2 separate regions of the Homo sapiens genome follow, and region 2 is linked to region 1. Evidence: promoter capture Hi-C in human tissues and cell types (Jung and others, 2019). All regions are on one chromosome and are shown on one strand. Each heading gives the region's core, a stretch centred on a gene start or on the middle of the fragment in contact. The rest is flanking DNA. Distances are from core to core; before and after follow the strand shown. Region 1 holds the start of DCST2 (DC-STAMP domain containing 2). Region 2 overlaps KCNN3 (potassium calcium-activated channel subfamily N member 3).

Region 1 (2,572 bases), core at 49-2,548:
AGTGAATGAATGAATGAATGAATGAATTTAATTTCTTAGGAGGATCAGAAAACGAGGTCAGACAGGTCAGGAGAGATGAGAGTTATGAAGGGTTATGGGGTTGGACTATATCATGTGGGTGATGGGGAGTCCCTCGGAATGGAGAGACTCCCTCAGGGCAAGGACGGTGTCTTCCTTCTTAAATTGGCAGCCTCTTCCCTCTGGACCTCCCCGTAAAGCCCAGGAGGAGGCGGAAGCCACAGGGGATGTATGGGTACAGAAGAAACAAGTCCCGACTCCTTCCTGGGCATGCAGGACGGCGCTGTGTTCCACAGGCCGCTTGAGTGTTCCTGGCTTTTGCCCAGCACTAACCCACCAAGCTGTACAAGAACATAATCTTCTGTTCTTCGTAGATGTTCATGGGGTTCACCAGGAGCTGAAAGAGACCTAAGGGCACAAGGTCAAGCCAAAGGCCAAAAGATGGGTCCTAGCCCTGGTCCAGCCTCTGCCCACCCCGAACTTTCTGCTTCCACACTCACCTATGGCCAGGAGCCCCCCAGCGCCTGCCCCCAGCAGGAGAGCAGTGACAGGAAACTCGCCCGGCTGGCGCCACAGGAACCAGCTACAGGAGACTGGCAGCCCCCAGGTCAGGAGCCTCTGCACCGCTAAGAGGGGGACAGGGTAGCTCAACAGCCCACTCTTCTGCCTGGGATGGGGCTCATTAGGATTCAGGGCTTGCAGGTGGATAGAGGCTGGGGAAACCTGGCATGTGAAACAGTAGGAACTTAGGGGACCCTGGAGGAGGATGAGGGAGCCTGAGGAAGTGGTATGGGTGTAAGGGACAGCAAAGGCAAGGGCTGGGCTGGGAGGCGGGAGGCACTAGACCAGAGAGGTGGTGGAGGCGCGGACACCGAGTTGGGGGATAGTGTGCAGGAGTTCCAGGAGGAGAGATGGGATGAGAGTGGAGGTCAAGGGATACTGGGTCTCTGCTGAGTGACTCACTGGTATGAGGCTGTTTTCTTCTTTGCCCTCTTGTGCCATTCTGATGATGTTTAATGTCCATGAGTCTGTTTTGGGGAAGCACCACTCATCCCAGGTCTCCTGAAGGACCTCCTTGGACACAAGGTTCTGGTGAGAGAAGAGAGGTGCTGCCTGTCTCTTCCGCTTCATGGGAAGCCTAGGCCTGAGCTCTGGGCCTTTTAATCCTTCTGCTCCGAGAAGTGGGGAAGGAGATTAGAGACCTACCTATCCCCTCTCCAGTCCTCGGAACTGGGTCAAGGATTCCAAGACATATGCAGTGAAAGCCCTTTGGAACCTTAGAATACGGTGAGAAATTCCAGGAGCACAGAAGTCAGCGGGCATCTCCTGGAGACAGGCAGACATTTGGTCTCAGCAGCCATGCCCAAAGTCATGAAGGATGTTGTGCACCCCTTGGGGGGAGAGGAGCCTAGCATGGCGAGAGCTGTGGTTCGCAGCGTGGGAGGTTTTACCCTGGGCTTGTCTTTAGCCACGGCCTACGGGCTTCTGGAGCTACTGGTGGAAGGCCACAGCCCCTGGGGTTGCCTGGTGGGCACCCTCACTTTGGCTGCCTTCCTTAGCCTGGGCATGGGATTCTCTCGCCAGGTCCGAGCCACTGTCCTCCTGCTGCTGCCTCAGGCCTTCTCCAGTGAGCTTGGCACCCAGGGCTAGGGGGCAGGTCCTGGGGCTGGTGCTGGGGCAGAAGAGATGCTGGAGGAGAGGCAGGGGTTAAGGGAAATATTCTGAAGGCTTATGTAAGGGACTTGCTGCCATGTTTGGGGCTGGGGTCTTGGTTCTAACAAAGCTGTCGCCCCCAGGGCAGGGCCGGACACTACTGTTGGTGGCTGCTTTTGGGTTGGTGCTTCAAGGGCCTTGTGCCAACACTCTACGCAACTTCACCCGGGCCAGCGAGGCTGTAGCCTGTGGGGCAGAGCTGGCCCTGAACCAGACCGCCGAAGTGCTACAGAGGGCCAAGCAACCTCTTGTCAGTAAGTCCCCCACCTCTACCACTGTCTCCCACGGGCCCCCCTCGCCCCCCTCATCCTGCATGTTCTACAGTCCTTTGGCCTCCTTCTCTGCTGGTGCTAATCGCGGAGCATCTGGGCCTGGAAGGGACTCTGGGCACAGCTAAACCCTCTCTCCTTGCTCTCTGGCCTCCTCCACTCCCAGATTAACGATCTCCCAGGCCCCAGAATCCAGGCTTCCCGCCTCTGGAAATGGTGGCCTCCTCTCTACTCCCTGCTTAAGGGGCAATGGTGAGAACCAGCCCCTAGAGGAGAAGACTCCAAAGTGCCTCTGTCCCTCACCCATCAGGTGCCCTGAACAAGATTAAAGCTATTGCCCGGAAGACCAAAGAGGTGGCTGACCGGGTCCGCAAGTTCTTTCGGTCAATCATGGATGGTGTGAAACACATAGGTAAGCACATTAGCATGTCTATCCCGGGGACTCAAAATGCACCCAGTCCTGGCCGGGTGCGGTGGCTCATGCCTGTAATCCCAGCACTTTGCGAGGCCGAGGTGGGAGAATCACTTGAGCCCAGGAGTTTGAGACCAGCCTTGGCAACATGGCGAGACCC
Region 2 (2,572 bases), core at 26-2,525, 210 kb after region 1:
AGGCTGGTCAGAGGTCCAGCTGCCCTCTGGAGTCCCCAGAGTCTCCCTTCCCACTGTGACAGCATCGGCTGTCTCTCCCGGTCTCAGGTTGGACAGTCCTGGGAGAGAGAGGGTCTGAGTGACTTCATTCTGTCACTTCATTCATTAGTGACTGAAACAGGATTCTGTTAGCTGACTTCTGGTAGGAGCCAGGTTGGGAAGCCGCTCTGAGGATGCTGGGAGGGCCAACAGCTGCAATTATTATTATTATTGTTGTTGTTATTATTATTATTATTATTGAGACAGAGTCTTGCTCTGTCTCCCAGGCTGGAGTGCAGTGGTGTGATCTCGGTTCACTGCAACTTCTGCCTCCTGGGTTCAAGCCATTCTCCTGCCTCAGCCTCCTGAGAAGCTGAGACTACAGGCTTGCACCACCATGCCCAGCTAATTTTTGTATTTTTAGTAGAGATGGGGTTTCACCATGATGGCCAGGCCGGTCTTGAGCTCCCGACCTCAAGTGATCCACCTGCCTTGGCCTCCCAAAGTGTTGGACTTACAGGCGTGAGCCACCACGCCTGGGCTTGCAATTAAATTAGGGTGCTGCACCTGGGAGGAGGAGGCTGTGCTAAGATAGGAGCTGAGGATGATGGGTAAGAATGAAAGATCCCAAGAACTGGACAGTGTGAGATTGAGGAATGAGGAAGGCCAGGGCTTGGTGCTGATGTGGAGGGAAAGAAGCCTCAGGTCTCCATGGAGAACAGCGACCAGTGATGCGGTCTTCCCTTTAGCGGAAGAGGGGCTGGTTTAATTTGCATAGCATTAATTAGCAAGAGTATCTAATTAGGACAACCATTACAGAACCACAGTCATAAGCCGATGTTGAATATCAATCAATTTTGGAGCCTCTCCATGAAATTGAAGGAAAAGTTGACCTTATTAGATAGAAAAGATTTCTAAATCAATTATTTCCCAGATTGAATGCACAAAACATAGTGATGTCAGGCAGGCACATCAGACCTTAATTCAGAAATTATGAACTTCAGATACTATCACCTTTTCCCTTTGGGGGTTTCAGCCAGTGACAGAAATCGTGAATGGACCACATATGTGTATAAACACACACACACACAACCATACACATATACTCTTTGTGGGTAACAGCTTGGTTGGGGAAGGAGCCTGCGCATCATTATCTCAGTTAAGCTAATATTTCAGTTTGGTTCAGTGCCCCTCCAGGTCTCTGTCTGTAAGCATAGCTTTCTCCTTTTTGCGATGACCCAAACAATAAAATACATTTAGAACTTCAAAGTCTCTGGGAAGATATACCATAATCATTACAGTTCTGGCCTGTTTTTGGAAGCTACAAGGCAGGCCAGGAGAGCAATTTATGTGGCTGGCTCAGAAGCTGGGGAACACACTCCATCACCCTCTGCACAGCCTCAGGGGAGGAAAGGCTGGAACAGCTCTAAGAAGCCTCGCTGCAGATATTGGAGGGCCAGCAAGGCGTGGCCGCCAGAGCAGGTGGGGTGCTGGGACACAGGCGGGGCAATGGAACCTGGAGGCAGACAGATCTGGGTGTAAAACCTGGCTTTTGCAAATCCTGGCTTTGCCATGGTGAGAAGTTAGGTAACATGCCCTTGGACAAGTTACCTAACTTCTGAGAGCTTAAGCTTTCTCCTCTGTAAGAGTGGGTTGACAATGCCATCCTTGCATGGTAGGCCCCTATAGATGTGCTTTATTACAGATTATTGTCATCAATGAGAAATCACAGATCTGTGAAGGGCTGGCTCGTGGCCTGGAGCAGAACAGGGACCACATGGATGGAGGCAGCTCTTAGGAATTCTATTGACATATTTTCAGTCTTTTTCTACACTAAAAAAGCTTAAAAATGAAATAATTGGAAATATACTACATATCGTTTTGGGGTCTGAGTTTATCACTTAATAGTCTATCATCAACCATTCTCCATGTCTTCAGATATTGTCTGCAGAAGTGTTTTTTGGTTTTTTTTGTTTTTGTTTTTGTTTTTGTTTTTGTTTTTGTTTTTTTTTAAGATGGAGTCTCGCTCTTCACCCAGGCTGGAGTGCAGTGGCACTGTCTCGGCTCACTGCAAGCTCCGCCTCCCGGGTTCATGCCGTTCTCCTGCCTCAGTCTCCCGAGTAGCTGGGACTACAGGCGCCTGCCACCACGTCCCGCTAATTTTTTGTGTTTTTAGTAGAGATGAGGTTTCACTGTGTTAGCCAGGATGGTCTCGATCTCCTGACCTCGTGATCTGCCCACCTCGGCCTCCCAAAGTGCTGGGATTACGGCCGTGTGCAGAAGTGTTTTTAGTGGCTGCGTAGTGTTCCATCACTGCCTGATCTCAAATCTACTTAACCACTTGAAAATTTGTGGGCATTTAGGAATAAATGACTTTAAAACATGACTCTCAGCTGGGCGCGGTGGCTCACGCCTGTAATCCCAGCACTTTGGGAGGCCGAGGCGGGTGGATCACTTGAGGCCAGGAGATCGAGACCATCCTGGCTAACACGGTGAAACCCCATCTCTACTAAAAATACAAAAAAATTAGCCGGGTGTAGTGGCGGGCGCCTGT

What was found. Contacts are between HindIII fragments. The study calls those that stand out against the background at their distance.
Region 2: a contact is called between a fragment that was not itself captured here and the fragment with the promoter of DCST2 in region 1, in 2 of the 25 tissues and cell types used here (dorsolateral prefrontal cortex and spleen).

Annotation. Positions count from the first base shown.
Region 1 is chr1:155,032,507-155,035,078 of GRCh38, reverse strand. DCST2 (DC-STAMP domain containing 2) reads left to right here and starts at 1,298. Exons shown (of 15, transcript NM_144622.3): 1 at 1,298-1,645; 2 at 1,815-1,985; 3 at 2,311-2,412. The coding sequence starts at 1,378. It overlaps DCST1 (DC-STAMP domain containing 1), which reads right to left and starts at 1,255. Exons shown (of 17, transcript NM_152494.4): 1 at 1,225-1,255; 2 at 982-1,107; 3 at 519-644; 4 at 352-426. The coding sequence starts at 1,042. The HindIII fragment of the contact is 8,066 bases long and covers 1-2,572 here.
Region 2 is chr1:154,825,505-154,828,076 of GRCh38, reverse strand. The region is part of intron 1 of KCNN3 (potassium calcium-activated channel subfamily N member 3); the gene reads left to right. Among named protein-coding and RNA genes, the nearest start is that of KCNN3, 43 kb to the left of the region's middle. The HindIII fragment of the contact is 4,353 bases long and covers 1-2,572 here.